2 separate regions of the Homo sapiens genome follow, and region 1 is linked to region 2. The links are contacts of gene promoters, found by promoter capture Hi-C in blood cells and fetal thymus (Javierre and others, 2016). All regions are on one chromosome and are shown on one strand. Each heading gives the region's core, a stretch centred on a gene start or on the middle of the fragment in contact. The rest is flanking DNA. Distances are from core to core; before and after follow the strand shown.

Region 1 (4,910 bases), core at 498-2,997, 200 kb after region 2:
GGACCCCTGAATTCTATTTATTCTATCCGGGTTAAGATCCCCTATTTTGCATCCTTCTGTACCAGGCAGGAGAGAGGCAAGGATGGATATACTTGAAGGCTTTCCCTTCTGCCCGCCACCTCTACTAAAGCCACTTACATTAGGAAAGTCCAGGTCTAGCTTGAATTTCACATCCAGCCATTGGCTTCGATCATAGTCAGGAGCTGTAAGAGACGGAATTAAGTGGGACCCAACCTCCTTAATACCCCACCTGACAAGAGCAAAAGATCTAAAGAAATGACTTGGTCCCAATACCTCAAATTCCCAGGCCCCAAAAGCATAACCATTGAGCCTCTGAGCCCTATTTGGTTAAGCATTAAGACGGGTTTGGGCTATGTTAAAAAGAGAACCCCCAGTTCCAGATAAAGGATGTGTCTCTATTCACCCAGATTGGGGCAAACGTCCCACCCGGCCTTGGCGCGACGCCACCACCCTCTGGGCGTAAGAAGACCAGGGCAGGTGGAGGGCCAGCTTGGCTGCACGGGCACGCGGAGCGGCATTACCTTCCCCGCACGTGTACCGTTTCTCCTCATAAGAGGTATCCGTGAACTCCAGGAGCAGGCGGATGGCGTGCGCCAGCTGGGGAAGACAGCGGTTCAGCGACTGCGCAGCTCCCACCCATTCCCAACCCCCGCCCGCTAACGTTCCCCGGCCCGGGGCTGCCGAGTCCCTGCGTCCTGCCGGGGCGGTGGTTAAGCGGCCCCTAGGCCCGGCTCCGGCGTGGTCTCCTCCGCCCCTCCCCACAGGGCCCGCGATCCCAGAGGCTGGGCAGGGGTCGACATCCGTGGCTCGGCAGCTCGAAAAGGCTCCCGCGTAGAGCTGCTCCTGCTGGAGATCGCGGACCCAGAGACCCGCCCTCTCCGCGTCAGTCTCTTTGACCGAGCGGCTCTACCGTTGAGACGGCACTCACCCCACGAATATCCCAGTACCCGAGAACCATAGACGACTCGCACGACATGGTGACGGGCTTCCGAGCCTTCGAGGACTAGGGAAACTGTGAGCGGGAGGGGCTTTATACCCGACATAAGGGGGCGGGGCCCACGCGCGGGCGCCCTGACTCCGCCTCCGCCCCGTTCTCCGTCCCTTGCCTCCGCGGCTCCACAGGGCCGTGCGCAGGCGCGACTAATGCCGGCGTTGGGGTTCAGGGCCTGGCGACCCCGAGGCGGGACCCGGGCAGGAGTGCTGCAGGAGAGCAAAGGACCCGAGGTTGAGGCTCCTCCCTTCCCCGCGGGTGGGAGCCAGACTTCATTCATTAATGGTGCCAGTGAAGACGCGAAAAGCACCACTAGCCAGGCAGTGGGGACCCTAGTTACCCAGGGAGAGCGAGATTCGCGCCGTTTTTACCGAGCCAGCCGGGGCTGGATGAAGGATAGGAAGACTGGGGCAAGGCCGGAGAGTCAGACCAGCCTCTGACCACACAGAGCAGAAGATTCCCCACAGACCAAGCTCCCCTCTCTGTCAGTCAAGGACCTCTGCAACCTGACCCCAACGTGCTTTTCCAGTCCTGTCTCTCCCTCAGCCCGTCACAACTTCATAAGCCAGCCCAACCCAACAATACTTGCTGTTCCTTCTACACACACTTGCATTTCCCACCTTGGAGTGTTTGCTCTGTGATCCTCCTACCTGCATCCTAATTTCCACAGCCTATCCTTCCTCAGCAGCCTTGCTGAAATGTCTGCCTATTCCTTGAAGCCTTCTCAGAACCAACCTCTATCCTGGCCAGAAGAGGTCTCTTATCTTGAATGTTTCCTACCTTTGTTTTATGGGCTTAAGTAATTTATGGATTCCTTATTATAATTTCCTCCTCCAATCCCTCCCACTTCCTAATGCTCACGCATTTAGGGAAATTAATCTTGCCTCTTTGTGTAGGATGGACTGGAGGAGGAAAGGTACTACCATTTTTCATTCACTCATTCATCTGTCCAACAATGTTTAACATGCCTGTTATGGACAGGCACTGTTTTAGGTGCTGGGGATACAGAACTGAACTCAACAGACAAAATCCCTGCCCTCAGGAAGTTTACATTCTAATGGGGAAGAAATAAACTAATATATAGTAAATAGCTAGTAAGTCAGGTGGTGATACACATCCTATGGAGAGAAATAAAATCGAGAAGAGAGATAGGGGGTCTCAGGGTGGGAACTGGGGGAGTCCCAGTAGGAAGGGGATTTATGTTTTTAAAGGTTATGTTCATAGAAGGCCTCATGGAGAAGTTAATCTTTAAACAAAGACCTGAAGGAGGTGAGAGATCAAGCCACTCTGCTGTGGGGGCCACCATGGGCTGATATAAATATAAAACAGAATAATTGCTGTTCCTTTTACAAGCATGTTTGCTCTGCTCCTGCCTGCACCCTAATGTCCATGGCCTAGCCTTCCTCAAGTAGCCGTGCTCAAATGCTCACTTCTTCCTTGAAGCCTTCTCAGAATCACCCTCTATCCTGGCCAGAAGAGTTCTCTCCCTCTCTTATCTCGAATCACTTCCTACCTGCAGGAGGCAGAGAGAACTCCAGGAAAAGGGAAACAGCAAGTACAGGAGTGATCACTCTGTGTTTGAAACCAGAGACTAGATGAGATCACCATGGGAGCACGAGTAGCAGAGATGAGGTCTAAGGGTTTGAGGTGCTCTGGCATATCAACATGTAAAGGTTAGGGAAAAATGAGAGCAAACCAGCAAAGGAGTCTGAAAAGGAGTGGCCAGGGAGGTAGGAGGAAAACAAAAGGTCCCAGAAGCCATGTGAAGATGTTTAAAGGGAGAAGTGATCAACTATGTCAAGTGTGGCTGATCAAGTAAGATGAAGATGGAGAATCAATGGTTGAATTTAGGAAAGTAGGGGTTTTGACCTTGACAGAGCAAGAGACCTGCCCGAGGCCCCTATAGTCATGGGAAGAACTAAGCTTCTGAATTTCGGCAGGGCCCATGCAAATGAAAAGGGGCACAGATTTGCAACAGGGTCAACTCGGGAGACATAGGATTCTAGTTGAATGTGGAGGAGTGACAGAGGAAGGAGTCCGGAGCTGCTCTGAGGGTTCTGGCCAGGCCTCTGCAGCACAGCTCTCAGGGCAGTCTGAGAGCCTAGATCCCCTAGCTCAGGTGTGGGAAATCACATTTGCCCATCAGTTCAACTGAAGCAAGGTTGGGACTTTTTAAAAGGGCATTTTGCTAAACAGAAGAAAGGAAGAGTACAAACCACATGGACAGGTGAAATTTATAATGCCTGTGTCTCTCCTCCCAAGAAAGCAAAAGGCCAGTCACAAATTCACCTGAGGTATAAGATTAACATTTATTGAGCACCTATCATATGCCAGGCAATATCTAAGTGTTTACGTATGTTAGCTAATTTATTCCAATTTAAGCTTCACAACAACTTTAGGAAGTAGGTGTTATGCCCATTTTCTTTTCTTTTTCTTTTTTTTTTTTTGCAGTTTTTGCATTACTTTCTTTTTTTTAAATTTTATTATTATTACACTTTAAGTTTCAGGGTATATGTGCACAATGTGCAGGTTTGTTACATATGTATACATGTGCCATGTTGGTGTGCTGCACCCATTAACTCCTCATTTAACACTAGGTATATCTCCTAATGCTATCCCTCCCCCCTCCCCCCACCCCACAACAGTCCCTGGAGTGTGATGTTCCCCTTCCTGTGTCCATGTGTTCTCATTGTTCAGTTCCCACCTATGAGTGAGAACATGCGGTGTTTGGTTTTTTGTCCTTGCGATAGTTTGCTGAGAATGATGGTTTCCAGTTTCATCCATGTCCCTACAAAGGACATGAACTCATCATTTTTTATGGCTGGATAGTATTCCATGGTGTATATGTGCCATGTTTTCTTAATCCAGTCTATCGTTGTTGGACATTTGGGTTGGTTCCAAGTCTTTGCTATTGTGAATAGTGCCGCAATAAACATACGTGTGCATGTGTCTTTATAGCAGCATGATTTATAATCCTTTGGGTATATACCCAGTAATGGGATGGCTGGGTCAAATGGTATTTCTAGTTCTAGATCCCTGAGGAATCGCCACACTGACTTCCACAATGTTGAACTAGTTTACAGTCCCACCAAAAGTGTAAAAGTGTTCCTATTTCTCCACATCCTCTCCAGCACCTCGTTTCCTGACTTTTTAATGATTGCCATTCTAACTGGTGTGAGATGGTAACTCATTGTGGTTTTGATTTGCATTTCTCTGATGGCCAGTGATGGTGAGCATTTTTTCATGTGTTTTTTGGCTGCATAAATGTCTTCTTTTGAGAAGTGTCTGTTCATATCCTTTGCCCACTTTTTGATGGGGTTGTTTGTTTTTTTCTTGTAAATTTGTTTGAGTTCATTGTAGATTCTGGATATTAGCCCTTTGTCAGATGAGTAGGTTGTGAAAATTTTCTCCCATTTTGTAGGTTGCGTGTTCACTCTGATGGTAGTTTCTTTTGCTGTGGAGAAGCTCTTTAGTTTAATTAGATCCCATTTGTCAATTTTGGCTTTTGTTGCCATTGCTTTTGGTGTTTTAGACATGAAGTCTTTGCCCATGCCTATGTCCAGAATGGTATTGCCTAGGTTTTCTTCTAGGGTTTTTATGGTTTTAGGTCTAACATGTAAGTCTTTAATCCATCTTGAATTAATTTTTGTATAAGGTGTAAGGAAGGGATCCAGTTTCAGCTTTCTACATATGGCTAGCCAGTTTTCCCAGTACCATTTATTAAATAGGGAATCCTTTCCCCATTGCTTGTTTTTGTCAGGTTTGTCAAAGATCAGATGGTTGTACATATGTGGCATTATTTCTGAGGGCTCTGTTCTGTTCCATTGATCTATATCTCTGTTTTGGTACCAGTACCATGCTGCTTTGGTTACTGTAGCCTTGTAGTATAGTTTGAAGT
Region 2 (4,561 bases), core at 1,861-4,360:
TAAACTTGCTATTTCCATATTTTTGGTAGGCCTTCTTTTTCCATCTAGACTACTGTCCTCAGCCTCTTTCAGTTACTCACAGTTAAAATCCTACTCCTCCTTTAAGACCCGTGCCACTTCCTTCATGAAGTCTTCCTAGATTTCATGAGGAAGTAAGTTCACTTTTTCCTTTGAATCTCCCCAGCAATTTCACCATCCCTTGACACTTACAGCCTGCATTGTCCCCATCCTAGACATAAGCACCAAGAAGGCAAGTCTGTATTTGTTTAATCTTTGTAACCCTCTTCCTCACTTCCTATACAGAGCTTTGCATATAGTAGTTGCTCAATAAACATGTCTTGAATGGAGTGACATAGAGCCTGCAGTTTGGGCTGCTAGGAGCTGAAGGAGGTGGGAATAGGGTGCTCCCAGGCTTCAGGAGACCATAGGAATGTACTCAAAATGGGGAGACAAGGACAGTACAGAGGTAAGTGGGGTGTCTGGGCCTTCTCAGAACCTTGCTGGGGAGGAGGAGCTGAAGAAAACAGACAGCTGGGAGGTCCTAGGGATATGGTGGGTTGAGGAAGGGCCCCAGGAACCCAAATGTGCGCCATTAATGACAAGCTGAAAAAAGGAGCAGGACTCCGGAGGCTTGGGTTCTGGTTGCACCTCCTTTACCCTCTAGCTGTGTAGCCTAGCCCTGGGCAAGTTCCCTTTCCACTCTAGGCCTGTTCATCTGTAAAATCAGGAGTTAGACACCTGACCTCCTGTGATCCTTTCAGCTTTGCTACTCTGGCCCTATGTCAAGCTTCTGAAGCAGGGTTGTGCTGAGCAGTGGGGATTTGTGTCTGCCTCCCCAGGCTTCAGCACCGGGGATGACCCCACCCAGGTCCTGGACAGTATTTCCCAGAGAAGGGGACAGAGCCCAAAGCCATGGGGAAGGAGGTACGTGGCCTGGGTAAGCTGCGTCCTGGCTTGGAGGATGTGAAAGAAGTTCCAGGGGGAGATAACTCCCCTCCAATTCAGAGCAATTAAAGTGCCAAGTTTTCAGGCCCCAGGGAAGGGTTTTGGGGAACTCCCCTTTCCATAACTGTGCTTCCCTGTCTTCTTCCTTGCCTCATCCCCATAGTATAGATCTGGGGTTTGAACCCCAGTTGCTCAACTGTGTGGCTCTGCAAAAGTCACTTAACCTCTCTAAGCCCCAGTGTCCATATCTGTAAATGGAATCATTGAGACTAACAGAGAAGATTGTGTAAGACTACTCACACGAATACGCCTAGTGCTGTGCCTACTGCCAGAGCTCCCTTCCCGAGTCTGGAAAAGGACTGTTAGGGCAGATGGCCCCCAGGCCACAGGGCAAATGACTAATTCGCTTTGCCCATGCACTGGGTGTAGGGCAGGGCCTGTGGAGGGACAGGCTGATGATGGGAAGGTTGGATGGGAAGAACATGCAGAGGATATTACCCTGATTGCTAGTGAGGAAGGGCCACTCAACCTGTAGACCTATTTATTGTGTTATTAATAAATAGGAGACCCAGGAGCTCTCTGGGACTTTTCTGTGGGGTTCCAGCATTGAGCCCCTGCTGATGGACAGGAGGTGGGCAGCATGGGAAGGGCCCTGGTCCATAGCAGGCCTGGCCTAAACATGCACTGTGGGTGTTCCTGCCACTCTTTTGAGCCTGGTTCATCCGAGGCCCCCAGTTTCTAATCTGGTTGGGAAGGATTTATTTTTGGGTCCCTGTAACCTAGCAATGGGCTCACATGACCAGTGGCAGCTGCAGGCTGAATATACCATTGGATCTCAGCTCCTGGCAGGGGGTGTAGGCCAGACAGTGGGGGAATAAAGAGAATGGAAGGGCTCTCACCTCTGCTTTCCTCTGCCTCCCTCCTCAGCCCCTTGGCCTGGCTCCCAGATGCTGGGCAGGGTGAGGTGAGTGCTTGGAAAGCAGGCATGGCTGGTGCTGGTACAGGGGGGCCCCAGGAAGCCAGGAACTGAGCTGTGGTGTGGAGGTCCCAGCTGTAAGCCTGCTGTCTGGTTGGCAGGGGCGGGGGGGTTGGGTGCCCATGCGGATGGAGGTGGATGCCAAGAGGACACAATGCCAGCAGCTTGGCGGGGGAGGCCTGGCTAGGGAGTAGGCGGCTGACAGGCAGTCTATGTTGTGGGATCTCAGGGACATCCCTGGTCGATGCTGGAATCCCAACGTTCTGCTTCTTCTCTTTGTTCCCTGTTAAATTGTTAATATTCCTGGGAAAGAACACATTAAGTTGCTATCAGTGCAAATGGGTTTATCAACCTCTTTCCTGAGAGCAGATTCTGACACAAGGCAGAGAAGGAGGGTAGTGGGTGCCACTGAGCAGGCAAGGGGCTCTAGGGAGGGGGCAGTGGCAACATAAGAAGTCTTCAATGTTTATTGAAGAAGTGGATGGATGAATGAAAGATAAACTTGATTGGCTTCCAGGTCTCATCCTGGGGCAGAAAAGGGTGGATGGGCAGACACGACCCTGTCACGAGGTGCTGGTGCACAAGGGTTGGGTAAAACTGTACCAGGGAGCAAGTCTAGGATGCAAAGATCAGTCCTCAGCAGCAAGGGCCCTGCCATGATACCAAGGGAAGGGGTGCCACTGTTGGAAACAGGGCCTGGTCCCCGTCCTGTAACAGGATTCCCTTCCTGGGTGTGTGCACAGCATAGTGAGCCATGGATCTCTTATGTGGTTTGGGGGATCACACTCAGTTTCTCCATCTTGGTCTTCTTGCCCCCTCCATTGTGCTAAGCTTTACTAAAAGGAGGGACTGGCAGGTGGGGTTGGGGGTGTGCTGTCAGTAGCTACTCCACACCCTGACTGAGATCATTTAATAAGATACAGCATAAGAAGTGCCTCCCAAAGTGGGCCTTCAAGAACTAGTAGCATTATTATTATTATTATTTATTATTATTATTTTTTGAGACAGAGTCTCACTCTTATTGCCCAGGCTGGAGTGCAATGGTGCGATCTCAGATCACTGCAACCTCCACCTCCTGGGTTCAAGCGATTCTCCTGCCTCAGCCTCCTGAGTAGCTGGGATTACAGGCATGTGTCACCATGCCTAGCTAATTTTTGTATTTTTAGTAGAGACGGGGTTTCGCCATGTTGGCCAGGCTGGTCTTGAACTCCTGATCTCAAATCATCTGCCCGCCTCAGCCTCCCAAAGTGCTGGAATTACAGGCGTGAGCCACTGTGCCCAGCCAGCATGATTATTATTATTATTTATTATTTGCCCACAGGCTAGAATAAGCAGTTCCCCCGCCGACCTCCTGAGCCAAGATGGTTCCAACAGCTGGAACATGCTGCCTCTTTGGTACTGCCTTTCCCAATAGCTCTCTGGGAGGGGCTTCAGGACACGGACGCCTTGCCTGCTGGCCACCACATGAGCTGTGATTACCTGTGCTAGCTCCCTGAAGCTGGAGAGGCAGGCTATGTTTGTTTTGCAGGCTCCCTACCACTATTAGATAAGCTTGGAAGTGAAGAATTTTGCCCATTTTCACAGACAGCCAACTCACAGGCCAAGGTCTTACCACCAACCAATAGAATGGCGCCAAACTGGAACCAAGGTTTTCTGACTCCAGTCTAGCGCTCTTTCTAAAATCCTGTTCCAGTGGGCCCAGGTCTGCTCCAGTTCTTATTGAATCCCTCGGAAGGGGCCATGCCAGTCTGGGCTGGGGCCCTGCAGGAAGAATGTGGGTGCTGAGCAGGGACAGGCTTTACCTAATCCCAGACAATCTGCTTGATGCCAAATTAATCTTGCCAACACAACAGCACAGGGCTTCCTAAAAATCACTTTGCTGTCTACAGGTTTTCAATTTGGTATTTCCATTTGAATTTCTTGTACGCAGGTATGCCTAATTTTGAGGTCTGTTTTAGGCTTTCTGGAAGGCAGTGACTACTTCTATGAAGATAGCTTTTAGGGCTGTAGTCCACAGTCTTGTGTCAGGCCACTGGAGAGGCCACGGAACGAAGGGAGAAGGAGGAGGAAATACTTGGACTTCAAACAGATCTGGGTTCAAATATCAGCTCTTGCACTTATTAGCTGTGTGATTTGGGGAAAGTCACTTCTCCTCCAGCACCCGGTTCCTCACTTATAAAATAGGGCAAGTCATGGCTGCCTCATAGATTGGTGTGGGGATCAAAGAAACTGTATGTAAAGGGCCTGGCACTCATAACAGCTCAAAAAGTGGTGGCTGGTGACAGCGGCACTTGCTGCATCGGCTCTTGGTTTGTCAGTGGCCTCTTTGTTTTTGACCTGGGGCTTGGGGCAGCCAACTTGTCCCAGTGAGGTCCTTGGGTAACTCATTGTTCTTATGGCTCTTTGGGTTGGGTCTGGTAAACAATTCCAGAATTCCCTTTTTCCTTCTTAGAGGCAGAAGGAGTCCCTAGATAGGCAAGTCTCAGGGAAGCAGGCTCTGGAGTAGGGGATCATGCCTGAATTCCCTGTTTAGACTCATGGCTCTGCCATGTGGAGCTATGTGGCTTTGAGCAATCTCTTTATCTCTCTGGGTCTCAGAAACATGGATACCTTGGCCTGTAGGATGTCCTACAGCTTTGC

Evidence for each region. Contacts are between HindIII fragments. The CHiCAGO score rates a contact against its expected background, and 5 or more counts as called.
Region 1: the fragment with the promoter of GSTM3 here is called in contact with a fragment that was not itself captured in region 2 in 3 of 17 cell types (M2 macrophages, endothelial precursors and M0 macrophages); the score reaches 7.5 in M2 macrophages.

The regions. Positions count from the first base shown.
Region 1 is chr1:109,739,291-109,744,200 of GRCh38, forward strand. It overlaps GSTM3 (glutathione S-transferase mu 3), which reads right to left and starts at 1,748. Exons shown (of 9, transcript NM_000849.5): 1 at 1,663-1,748; 2 at 950-1,221; 3 at 543-618; 4 at 139-203. The coding sequence starts at 997. RefSeq lists a silencer at 958-1,187. The HindIII fragment of the contact is 14,932 bases long and covers 1-2,933 here.
Region 2 is chr1:109,534,340-109,538,900 of GRCh38, forward strand. No RefSeq gene overlaps it. Among named protein-coding and RNA genes, the nearest start is that of GPR61, 3.3 kb to the right of the region's middle. The HindIII fragment of the contact is 720 bases long and covers 2,751-3,470 here.